2 separate regions of the Homo sapiens genome follow, and region 2 is linked to region 1. The links are contacts of gene promoters, found by promoter capture Hi-C in human tissues and cell types (Jung and others, 2019). All regions are on one chromosome and are shown on one strand. The core of a region is centred on a gene start or on the middle of the fragment in contact, and the rest is flanking DNA. Distances in the headings are between cores, read along the strand shown.

Region 1 (6,610 bases), core at 1,648-4,147:
AAATGGTGGATGGCTTATATCTTATCTTTTTCTTTCTTTTCAAATATACCTAAATCTCTTGCTGGGCAATTTCTGGACTAAGGGGTAGGAAACCTGGTTTGAGCTAACTCATATCAAGTTACTAATATATCCATTTCCCAAGACAGGAAAACCAGGTTATATGTATGAGGCAAGTAGACTGAAAAACAGAGGATGAACGACAGCCTGGATTTTTTTTTTCAAATTCACATCCTCAAGCAAGAGTCTTTGTTTCTTGTTGCTTCTTTCTGTAATAATGACACCCACAAAGAGAAAAATAAATGCTTTTTTCCTAGTTAAAAATTTACATTACTCAGTTAAGTAGCAGTGAAAACTGTCCTTGTTTTACTCAATAGATAAAGCAAGTTTACAAGGTGAGAAAAATTTCTCCCCCATTTGAATGCTGTGAAATATATTTTTAAAAGTGTCACAGAAGGAGGGAAGCTAGTTTGCAGGCTCACACATTGGGCTTCCATATTTCTGGTGTCACAAATAAAGTCACTTTTGAGTAGGATGGCTGGTGTTGGTAGAATGTTCTGAGGGATCTCACTAATTTAGTTAAAATCTAAGTAGGTCATATTCCACTACATTGAATATCACACCATAAAAAAGTTGTACAATAGTTTTCCAAGGTGCAGGCACTAATCACTTTTAAAAAGTAACAGAATTTGGTAAAACGCCAGTAAAGAGAATTGGGAACCCTTGGAATCTTTGAAATAGACTCACCTAGGTGATGGGTTGCTAGGTGCAGCAAACCACTATGGCACACGTTTACCTTTGTAACAAACCTGCACATCCTGCACATGTACCCCGGAACTTAAAAAATAAAAAATAAATGCTCAAATGGAAATCTGTTTTAGTTAAGAAGGGCATAAAACAAGTAAAGCTATTACCAGAGAGTTTATCAGTTTGGCATGGTTAACAAAAGGCAATACGTTCTTTTAGAAATATTTAGTTAATCAATTGAAATTAAACCTAGTTGTGAACCTAGCTTTTCAATTTATTCCATTGACTAGTCTTTGGAGTATTTATTACCTATGAATTATTTTTGGCCTTTAAAAATCAGTTCTCAAAAATTATGTGGAAACTTTCTTCTGTTTTCAGAGTGTGTATGTCATTAGTGATTTGTGTTGCAGAGTTTAGTTTTCCCTGTTAAAAAATGCGTCTATCGATCTAGCAGCTTATGCAGGTGTTCTCAAGCATGGATGGATATCAAATTGCCAGTAGAACTTTTTAAACCTATAGCTGCCCAAGCCCCACTTCTCATCCCAATCAGAATCTCCAGGCACAGGGCCCCACAACCTACTTCCATAAATACTTACCATCCAGCTAGGCTTGAGAACCACTGGTTTAATGACAGCAAACAAACTTTTTTTGAGGCTTTCAAAACATTTTTCTTGCTTAGACATTTCTTTACTCCTGCTGTAGCCAGAACCATTGCTGTGACAGGTTTAACATGTTCCCAGAAACTCTGAATTTTGTGCGATGCCATCTCTGATAGGGACAATGTGATGAACAATGTCTGAGATTGCTAGGTGGGCTTCACTTCTGGGGATGAGAAGCCAGAGAAGTTCAGGACACACTGACAAAGGTGAAGTTTTCTCTAAGCGACAGTTTGATCACCTTGATAGTGAGAGAGAAATGCTGAAGCAGGGTTATACCACCTGGTTTCAAGAGATGAGAGATGAAGGTTTTGGAGAATTCAGCACTTAAGAATCTTGAACCACGGCGGTACACTACTGGGTAATAAGAGCTTGGCTACGCTGAACGACAAAGGTTCTAGCTGGCCAGTCCGAAAACACTGAGTCCTTAGGTCAAATTTGAGAAATGACAGGGCCAGTGGGAGTCCTAACTTCTAGACTCTGGAATTACTGACAGAAGAATATTTGGACAGTTTTTAAGACCCTCAAGGCATATTATTTTACAACCTCTTTAGCTTATGCCTGAATTTGTGCTGTGACTGTTAGCTTCCCGGATGTTTTCTCCACATGCTTCTTTCTGAACTAGCCTGTATAGTTCTACAACAAATTGTTACGTTTTGAGAAGCAGGGACCACTTATACCACTTCTCTGGCCAAGTGTCTGGCACCGCGCCACTCAGACACACACGCCCAACCCTTTAGGATTAACGTAGACACAGTGTTCTCTTCCATGGCCATTCCGTCTCCACTTCTGGTTCCACACTCCAGTCACCAAGTTGGCATGATTGCTGCTCCATAGACCAAGGGTGGGTAATGTGGGGATTAAACACACCTTCCCTCAGCTGGTGCCCAAACTGTAAGCATCACCGGGACACCCCATGTAGCCACAGGAACGCTTCTCATCAGTGGAAGAAGGACAAGAAAGGTCGTGCAAGTTTCAAATTACGTGGAGCTGGGGCTACAGCCATTACTTTCGGACAGGTGCAATTCAAAGCGTGATCCTCCGACCAAGAGCTTCGTCATCGCCACCTGGGAGCTTATTAGAAATGCAGGATCTCAGGTCTCCACCCCAGACCTTCTGGATCAGAATCCGCATTTTAACAAGAGAGTCAAGTGATTCTTATTTATATTAGAATTTGAGAAGTCAATTGATCTGGTAATTGATCAACTGAGTGCCACTTAGCCCCCGAAAACAGAGACCCTTTGTGCCCGCCTCGCACCCGCTCTGCTAGGTAGCAACCGAACCCCCAGAGACATCGGAGCGGGCGCTGCCGAGGGCAATTTGGTGATTGGCTGGTCTCACCACGTGACCGGCGCTGAGCCTTCCGTGCGACCGGATTGGCTGTCGCGGACGCTGACGGACAAGGCCGGGGCGGGCCAGAGCCTGGTCGGAGGGGCGCGCGCGGGGGCCCGAGGGGCGAAGGCGCGAGTGCGCGAGAGCGCGTGCGCGAGCGGTGGGGCTTTCTCCTGAGCCGTCGGAGGGAGCCGGAGCGCTTCTCCCGAGGTAAGCGGCGCTCCGGGGCGTCCCCCCAGTCCTTCCCATGCTGGGTCCCGGCAAGCGGGTTAGGCTGGGCTGGGCGGGGCTCGGGGAGGTGTGGGGTCAGCTTGCCCCGGGAGCCCAGCTTCAGGGAGGATGCAGCCCCGGTTGCCTTGGTTTCCCTTTTCCTATCCTCTCAGGCACCTTCCCATCCTCCCCACTGCGTGACGGGTCTGCCCGAGGGGAGTTGCCCACCTGGCAGCCCTGCCTCCGCCTTTGTTTCCCGCCTGGAGGGTTGCTGGCATGAACCCCCTCCCCAGGTGGAGGGTGCGGGTGATGGGGCGCGGGCGTCAGGAGCGCTGGACCTGGGCTGGGGCCGAGGAGGAGGTGGCTTTAATGCAGGGGGACCTGTCACATGGGGAAACGAAGAAGAAGAAATGTAGTGTCACTTTGGCCAGCCCGAGGGACTCGAACTAATCCTGCGGCCGCGAGCGGAGCCGAATTCCTAGCGCAGCTGTGCGAAGAGCCCTCCTGCCTAGGTGCCGGCGGCCTCGCCGGGGACGGAGCCTCCGTGCTGCCCGGGAGGTTGCTCTGCCGGCTGGACCTGGCGGTTTTCACCCCAGAGTTGCAGCGAAATTGAACGCTTTGAGCCTGCTGGAGGAATCCAGAGATTGGTTCAGGGGCTATTTTTTTTTTTAAGCAGTTGGGCACCGGTGGAGCCGGTCTAAATGAAAGTCTACAAAAACCAATTTCAGATGCAGCGTAACTGATGACTGGTAAATGGTGAGGAGGGAAATGCCTGCAGTGAACTGCAGACCACCACACTGAGATTCTTCCTTAAGAAGATAGGGGTTTTTTTCGGAGGAAAGGTTGTAGTTTCTGCAAACAGGTTTTTCTGGGGGTACCCAGGAAGGTTATTACTTATTTTCAGCATGTTACTGGGTTGTGGGGAGAGGGAAGGCAGGGTCTAAACTAAACCTACTCACACGTCCTTAATTCTTTGAAAAGTGTGTGCTCGATGAAGACCATTTGGCTGCCAAAAGAGGTTTGTATGGGAGTCCGGGGGAGATGGATTGTTGCCTTTAAATCATACTTTAAAAAGGGGAAGGTATGTCCAGGAACTTAAGAGCAGGTCAAGCTATGGAAAGTATTCCCTGCCTCTCCTCCATTTCCCCAGACAGCTCATAGGCAAACATAAAAAGTCCCTTCAATTTTCCACGGGTTAACTTCTTGATTTGTTGGATACACCTGGTAATCTACTCTGTAAGAAATGGTTCAACTAACTCATTATGAAGATATTACTGTGTTCTGGACTTTCCACGTAATTTATTCAGAACTCTTTCTGGTATGAGATGGATAAGGGTCTCTCTACCTTGTCCCTTGGAGACATCCTGATACCTTCAAAGCCCTTTATAGCTCTTACATTCCCTGTACAACAACATGTTTCTTTAGGAAATGACCTGATTTCAAACCTCTAAAACACACCCCATGCCTGTGAAATGCCTACACTTGCCAAGAATTCAGTTTACTAGGCAAGATAAATATATTTTTTTAAGAGGGAACACCTAAATTTGTTAGGGGTATCAAATTCAGGTTTATCAGCCACCGGAAATCAAATTTTGTCGGTTTTCTGAGATGAATGAAAGTAAAAGAACAAGTTGCTGCAAAGCTCATTTAGAATATCACAAATGACCCTAGTAAAGTGAAATATAGGTTGTCACCTGATAGACTTCACACAAACCAAATTAGTGGGAATAATTTAAAAACTTTATCACAGTTTTTTTTGTTTGTTTGTTTGTTTTTTTTTTTTTTTGAGACGGAGTCTCCGTCTGTCACCCAGGCTGGAGTGCAGTGGTGCGATCTCGGCTCACTGTAACCTCCGTCTCCTGGATTCAAACGATTCTCCTGCCTCAGCCTCCCGAGTAGCTGGGATTACAGGTGTGAGGCACCATGCCCGGCTAATTTTTGTATTTTTTAGTAAAGACGGGGTTTCACCAGATTGGCCAGGCTGGTCTTGAACTCCTGACCTCGTGATCCACCTGCCTCAGCCTCCCAAAGTGCTGGGATTACAGGCATGAGCCACCATGCCGGCCAGAAAATTTTTTTTTTTAAGTGGCATGGAGTAGAGGGGAGAAAAGAATGCTGAGGGTGAGGTAGGTGGCATAGTATACACTTTTATTTTCAGAGGAGAGAAATTAATCTTTGTTCCATAAACCGCAAAGGGTATGCATTGTTTGTTTGGCCTGCGGAAGGGAGGCAGGGATTTTGAAAAGGTTGGGAAACACTGATTAGGTTATGCAAGGGACAACAAAAAGATTAACAAGCTTAGTCCATCTAGCAACGTACTTCAGTGACCTATAGGACAAGGTTTTATTCTCTGATTCAATAAAAGCCCACTAGTGTTGCTTTCAAAGCAGCAACAAAATCATTTCCTTTCTGTCGTTTCTGTCCCCTGGGTCAGGGACGGGGAACATAGAGAGTGAATGAGAGAGATTAGAGTCCGACCTGCATGCCTAAGCAGTAGTGTCCTCTGAGGAGGATCTGTGTCACATTGTGTAAGTATAAGAGCCTTCATATTGAGAGGGATCTGAGTACCTTCCTTAGGACACATGCTGTAAGATACAGCTGGATAACAGAGCCACAGGTGGGGGCACTGGGTGAGATCATCTGATAGGGAAGCATTGGGGAAAGAGGAGAGCCAGGAAATGTTTAATTCAGTGGGGCTCTGCTGGCTGCTTTTGGATCCTTGAGGAGGCATTTCAAGGCAGAGCTGCCTCATTGGCTAGCCTGGCTGGCTTTATGTGGCTTCCAGAGGACCTGCCATTCACAAGATGAAAGCTCCTGTGGTAGTTACACGTCTCAGGTTGTAAGCATCAGTTATGCTTGTAATGTGCTTGAGAAAAGAAGGGCTCACAGAGACCTAAATCTAGGCTGCCGTTCCTTCACTTGGCTCATGTCACCCCCCAGGGCTCCCAGAAAACAAGTTGTACCCTCCTTACCAGTAGATGGCACTGCTGCCCCTGGGAATTCCTGGAGGAGCTGAACTATGGAGCTGGCAAACCAGCAGTGTGTAGCCTCTAGTCAGAAGATTTTGAAAGGCTATGTCAGCCCTCAAACGAAATCTCAAAGAAAATAGTTCTGAAAGCCATAACTGTTTACATAAGGTAGGAATAACGTGTGTCATGGGGATTGAGGAATGGCTGTGATTACATTGACTGTACATGTGCGTTTCTGAAGGGAGAAGGCAGAGAGTAAACTGACAAGCATCATAGCATAGGCTTTAAACGCACCCGGCATATGTATTGGTTAATTAAACATAATAATCATGATTTGATCCAACTTTCCAACAACTTAATCGTTTCTAATTATTTGCATGTGAAGCTAGTCTACACACATGGATGGGACTATGGAAATATACATGTGACTTTTAAACCTGAACAGTAGCTGGTAAGTACATGCTCTGAAGACAGCAGTGAGAGTATTAGTAAAAATAATGCTGATAAAGTAGTCACTATATTTCAGGGCTGTCCACAGAAGATAGGTCAAAACAATTCTTAATTCGTTTCTTCTAAAACTTGAAAATTCCTAATGTGTTTTTAGATCTTCTTAGTTAATGTGGACCTTTCAATATTATATTAGCAGCCCCAAACTTGTGCTTTGGTTTTAATGATGTTATTAGTCAGGGTTAATTCATC
Region 2 (6,610 bases), core at 3,069-5,568, 41 kb after region 1:
TCCCACTAAGCCTTGCAATTTTAGGCTCTATCCATGTTGCTATGGGTACATCAAACCTGCTGCGTCTCTTTGCTGTGCTTCTCCACAGAGCATCCACCACATTTTTATCCATCTGTTCGGCCAGGGATGCTCACTCGATTCCCTCAAGCTCCCCTTCCCCACAAACAATACTGCTGTCAGCAGCTGCTTTTGATTGCACATCAACATTCCTCTGGGATATATACAAGGGAGTCAAATTGCTGGGTCATACTTAATTTAACTAAGTAGTATTGGATTGCTCTCCAGGATAGCTCTACCAGACTTCGCTCTACTAGCAGTTCTTGGGGGTTACTGTTTCCCCAACACTCCACCAATGCTTGGCATTATCCAGCTTCCTAATTTTTGCTAGGCAAATAAGCACAAAATGAAGTCTTGGGGGATTTTTTGGCCATTTCTTTGATCACCAGTGATTTAACATTTCTTACTATTTTGCTGTGATTTCTAGCAAGTGAAAACAACCCTACTGAATAGTAATCCTAACCCTCAAGAAGTCCAGACCATCACTAGTTTTCTGTTGTTGTCCTTCATCACTCCTCCTCCTTAGCACATCCCCGTGGCTTTTCCTTCTCTGCTGTAATCCCTCCTCCCTTGCACCTATCCTTTTTATCTTTTTGATAATATCCATTCTAACAGGTGTGAGGTGATATCTTATTGTGGTTTTGATCTGCCTTTCCTGGGAAAATATCAGAAAAGATCCCTGGGGAAAGATCAGAAGCTATTTCGCCCATCCTGTGTTTTGTTGCTGTGGGAAACAAGGAGATTCTCCTGCTTTGTGCCAGCAGTGAATCAAATAAGAAGTAGTAGATAATTTGAAGGGTGAGGACAAAGACAGGAGGCCACAAGCAAGTGATGTTCCTTTAAAACACAGCATTCAAGGAGAAGCAAGTGAGTGAGGCTGAAAGAGTGAGGAAAGATTGCTAGGTAAGGGGTCAGGTGGTATCTGGAGACCACCAAGGTCCAAAAGAAGGAGGAGATGATCCACAAAGGAATGTGGTGCTGAGTAATGTGGGGACCCTCGAGATTTGGGTAAGGAGGAAGGCAGGAGGAGGATTTAAGGGTCTAGATTTTTAAATACATGTACTTTTAATAAGTCCAAACTCATCAACATATATACATTAAATGTGGGCAAATTTTTTTATCAGTTATGCTTTGATAAAACTAAAAAATAAGGAACTTTTCCATAAAAGTAGGTCGTGACCCTAATAATAGTAATAATAACCCCTTCTGTGTGTCTGTTTCACAGTTTAACATTCTGCTTGCACTTCGAGGAGTCAAGGATGCCACTGCCTCATTATGCATGTAAAGAGACCGTGATATAGATGGGAAAAAAGACTTCCTCGAGGTCTTTTGGAAGTTGAGATTGGAACTTGGGTCTCAAAGCCCAAGTCGCTTACTGCTTATTTCTGTAACATGATGTTGGAGATTGGGCAGGACTGCTTGGGAGAAGCAATTGACTATAACAGAAGGGCAGAAAGGAGATAAAAGGAAGAGAAAAATTGCAGATGCAGTATGTGTAATAAAAAGTAAGCTACTCTGCCCTTAAAGTTTATGTCCTATAATCTTCCACTTTAAATTATTCTCTCAGATTTTTCTAGTGTAAATAGGTTGAGAATATTAGAACTGATTACCTTTTCAGTTCTATTGCCCAGCCATCCTCATTTGGCCAAAGGCCAACAGACAGTTTTCTGGGTTGAGATGTAGGAAGGCTTTGGCAATGGGCAGCAGTCTTTCTTAGCCCGTCTTTGCCATGGGGCTCAGTCTCTTTGGGTTGCGCCACCTTTACAGGTTAGCTGGAGTCAAGCTTAGGTCACATACGGGGATCCAGATCTGTGGATAAGCCAACGAAAGGAAGAGAAATCAAGTGCAAGGCCAAGAAATCAGAATTCAGTTACCACATCAAAGCCAGAATGACAGCACTCTGAGCTGGGAGGGCTGGGGCACTGCCTCAGTTCCTCACATGAGATAGTCATGCTAGAGCCCAAGAAGCAGATAGATCCAAGGCAAAGAGACAAGGACTTGGGAGGGCAAGGCTCCAGTTGTTTCTCATTCTTTGTCTGGCTGAGCCAGTCAAAGACTCAGACAAAGGGCAAGAGAAGTAAGCAAGTGGGTACCTGGCCGTTTGGGGCTGTGCTGGCGGTGAGCAGAGGAGGCAGCCGATGTTTTATAAATTGTTGCAAACAATACTCCTAAAGTCTTGGGCTTTATTTTTGCAGAGAGGAAAAAGGGCCCATTTAATTGTGCTTTGTTATTCTCCTACTCATATTTTTTTCTCTTTTATTGTAGTGATGGCAGTGGTGTTCAGCCAGGAGCAAGTTATATGAGGTAGGGTTCTGCCCAGGGGAGGTGCCAGGGGCAGGCGGTGAGATAGGGCGTCCAGGCTACCTGGGTGTCTGCAGAGCACCCTGGAACACCCATTTCAGTGAGTTGTCTGACCCAGGAAGGTCAGCACTCTGCTCTCCCCACTTTGTTCTTGGGGTGAAGGATGGATCTTGTGAAATCCTGAGCAAGAACAAAGGCTGACTTTATCCCTAGGAGGGATATTTGGGTCACTTTTCCTCTCTGAAGACTACTTCCACAGTTCTCAAAGTGAGAAGGCAGAAATGAAAGCACTTTCCCTTTTCTGTTTGTGCCCCTAAATTCCCCTGCACCTTCAGTCTTCCTTTGGCCAGGTAACTTCCTTTTGAGTTGGCTAGCTTCCTCTGCCTGCTGCTTAGGGATACAGGAGAGATGGTCCATTCGAGAAAGGACTCTAATCTTTGTCTTTTGTGTATAGAGTAAATAGGTACTTGGCCAGGATTCCCTGAGCTCTTGCTCCCAGGCTGACTCGTTTGCCTGTGTTCTGAGGAAACAGGCAGAGTGTGTCTTCCCAGGACAGCCCGGGGGCATTCAGAGTGATCACCCCAGATGCTGCCAGGTTTTTGTGTGTCTTCCAAACTAAGACTTTTATACAAACTAAAATTAGCCTTTGAGGATAGAGAACTCCCTAAATGGAAACATGTAGCAAAGTGGATGGAGGGATGGCAAAATGGGGCAAGGCTGTCTCACCTGCATGTTTTGGCGAAAAATGGTGGAGTTTATGGAGCTCAGTGTGTGTGTGTGTGTGTGCACGCGCGCGCGCGCACACGTGTGTGTGTATATCTCAGATCTTTGTTTTTAGTGACTCACATATGTGCTCCTGAGTTGCTTTTTGTGGACGACAGGGCATATACCTCCCTATTCTTCTCAGTCCTTTCGGACATGCACTCATTTTATATCACCTCAGGGATGGCTCCAGCCTTCCTACCCAATTCTTAAGTATTAGAAGACAGGTTACTCCCAAACAACTAGGCGGTGTCTGATACCCTTGTGGCAATCAAGTGATGCTCTACAAAGCTGCTTTGTAGAGCTGACCTGAGTGGCTAGGGTCTTTGTAGAGATGAGCTGAGTGGCTAGGGTTAGATTAAGGCTTGGAGGGGTCCAAGAAAAATGAACAAGTTACAAGGCTGTAACCCTCTGAAAGGCCACAGAATTATTAGTGATATTTTGAGTTTTAATTATTGATAGCAACTCAGTAATTTAAGTAGTTAATCAACTCAAGAATAAATACAACTTAGCAGGAAGTAATTAAAAAATTGAGATGTTTAACTGGAGGAGTTTTAAGCTTTGAAGTTATCTATTCAGTCAGAATAGTTGCACAAAATACCAAATTATTCATTTACTAAATATGAAATGTTTTTTTCTTTCTCTTTCCCTCTCTGATGCACACACACATATATTTTATCATAGTTGGATCTTGTAGGAAAAAGACTTTGAAGGGACTGATCATTTTCAAATCATTTATCCAGCGAATAGATATTGACATATTATTTTGCATGTTATTCTCTGCTCAAAACTGTAAGGGTGTTAAGATGCTTAAAACATGATTGCTGCCTTTCAGAAACTTTCAGCCATTAAATTGAGAAGAGAAGACAAACTTGCAAAATATAATAATAGTTATATAAATATTGAATTCAGCGAGAAGTGCCGGTGGTATATAATTAGGTTCTAGAAGAATGGATCAGATAGCTGTGACTTACGAAGGGGAAGACATAATTGCTGACTGCATTTTACTAAACCATTTATTTCCTCCTGGATTTGTTCCCTGTGTGTAAAGAGGGGCCTTCAACCCTGGTCAGGTGAGATGGAATATGCAATGCATATACATTTATCTGGAACTTTGTCCAGAGAATGGGTCTTTCAAAAAACAGAGTTACATAAATCCTCTCAGTGATTCTTTGGGGATTGTTGAGATGTTCGTCATTATCTTTATTTTGCAGGTGCCTTAGTCCGTTTGGGTTGCTATACCAGAATAATATAGACTAGGTGGCTTGTAAACAACAGAAATGGATTTCTTACAGTTGTGTAGGCTGGAAGTCCAAGATCAAGGTGGCAAGCTGATTCAATATCTGATGAGGGTCCGCTTCTGGTTTACAGGTAGCCATCTACTTTCTTTGTCCTCACGTGGCAGAAAGGAGCAAAGGTCCTCTCTGGAGTCCCTCTTACAAGGGCACTCATCCCATTCTTGAGAGTTCATGATCTAATCATGTCTGAAAGGCCCTATGTCCAGGTACCATCACATTAGGATTAGGTTCAGCATGTGAATTTTGGGAGGACACAAACATTCTGTTTATGGCAGCAGGTAAGGAACTGCAGGTCAGAAGGGCCCCAGCAAAGTATCATTCTGAAATGAATGACAGATGGGACAGGCACGAAGCTTGAAAGCGAGGAATAAGGGTGTGTCTTGCTTGACTGTGACCGTCTTGCTTACCTGCTGAGGCAGAGGTGCTAGGTATGCCTTCTCTTCAAGGCAGGGCCTCATCATGTAAAGGAGCTTCTGGGTGGAGGCTGAGTGCTTTCTCTATATAGCCAGAGGCCTCACTCCAATGCTTGGGGTGTGAGATCTAAGTTTTGCACAGATGTCTTCTTGCTACAGGCCAAGGCCACAATTAGGGGGAATGGACTCTTTCCACATACTTACTTGTCATCTCGTCCAAGGTAGATGCTTGATAAAATAGTGCTGTATGCTAAAGTGAGCTGCCTAAGCTTCCCTACACATGAAAAAGAAGCCTAGAGGAGAGCACAGATGGGGGACCGTTCAACTGCATTCCCAAGAGCATTATCCCTAACAGGGATAATGGCAGGATGTCCACTGTCTGCGGCCCCTTCTTTTGCCATTCTTTTACATTCATTGCTGTAGAGGGTATAAATAGGAATAAGGAACTGATGGCTATGTGAAGGTGAATTTCAAACTCTTTGAGTTGTGATTAACTTCCAGAGGCCTCAAAATAACTGATTTACATAAAGTATGATGCAGAAACTAAGCCACTCATTTACATCTTCACCATATTTTTTGCATGTAAGGACATATGTTGGTTACCTTTGGTCTTGACAATAACTTCAAGGAAGGAATGCTTTGTCTAATCCTTGTTCCTTCTTCAAGGCCCAACTCAAACACTTTCTCCCCTGGAATCCTTCCCAGAGCTCTTTAGTCAGAATTAATGATCCTATATACCTTTCCATAGCTCTTTGTTCATATCTCTTCACATATTTGGTTATTCACATGTGTGTTCATTTCCTTCATTCAACTCATATATTGTTTTTTTTTACACTCAGAAGCTGAAATTAGTAGACACTTAGTGCTACATGCTGATTGTAAAGTGTATATCTAGAGGAAAGCCAGTACAGTTCAATGTACCCAGTGTGAAGTACTTTCATCCTAGTACTTAATATTTGGATATTTTCTCCATTTTTTTTAAATACTAGGACTTGCGTGAATGAAAGCTTAGTCTCTAGATAGACACAAGTAGGGTCTCTTCACATGAAAAAGGAACTCATCCTCTTCCCCTTTAGCTCCTTAAAGCTTCTCCTCTGGGTGGCAGAGTCGTTTGATGAAAGGAACATGAACTTTAAGCTGACCAGATGGGTGATCTTGGGTAAGTTATTCTTATCTTTCCACATAACAACTTCTCGGATATAAAATGTGGATAATTACAGTTTCCTTGAACAGTTCCATAGCACAGTGTCGTCACTTCTCATGCCTTCATCCATACCTTCATCATTTCTCATCTGGACGTTTCACTGGAAGATGACTGTCCTAGCTCAGGCTGCCATCACAAAATACCATAGACTGGGCGGTTTGACAAGAGAAATTTGTTTTCTCACAGTTCTGAATGCGGGAAATTTGAGATCAGGGTACCAGTATGGTCAGAATATGGTGAGGGTTTTCTTCCCAGTTTGCAGATGGCCACCTCCTTGACGTGTTCTCACACGGCAGAAAGGGAAAGAATAAGCACTCTGGTATCTCTTCTTATAAAGGCACTAATCTCATCATAGGGGCCTCACCCTCATGACCTCATCTAAATCTAATTACCTCCCAAAGACTCCATCTACAAATACTATCACATTAGGGCTTCAACATATGAATTTGGGGGGAACGCAATTCAGTTCACAGCAATGATTGTGCCATTCCTTCAATCCATTCTTGCTATATGGAATATAGATCTGTCACATTTCCCTGCAGGCCAGAATAAAATTCACATTTCTTTGCATAACA

The links. Contacts are between HindIII fragments. The study calls those that stand out against the background at their distance.
Region 2: a contact is called between a fragment that was not itself captured here and the fragment with the promoter of TMEM108 in region 1, in 1 of the 25 tissues and cell types used here (aorta).

Annotation. Positions count from the first base shown.
Region 1 is chr3:133,035,494-133,042,103 of GRCh38, forward strand. It overlaps TMEM108 (transmembrane protein 108), which reads left to right and starts at 2,898. Exons shown (of 6, transcript NM_023943.4): 1 at 2,898-2,942. RefSeq lists enhancers at 2,592-2,886, 5,772-6,066. The HindIII fragment of the contact is 13,936 bases long and covers 1-6,610 here.
Region 2 is chr3:133,075,016-133,081,625 of GRCh38, forward strand. All of the region lies in intron 2 of TMEM108 (transmembrane protein 108), which reads left to right. Among named protein-coding and RNA genes, the nearest start is that of TMEM108, 40 kb to the left of the region's middle. The HindIII fragment of the contact is 3,118 bases long and covers 2,760-5,877 here.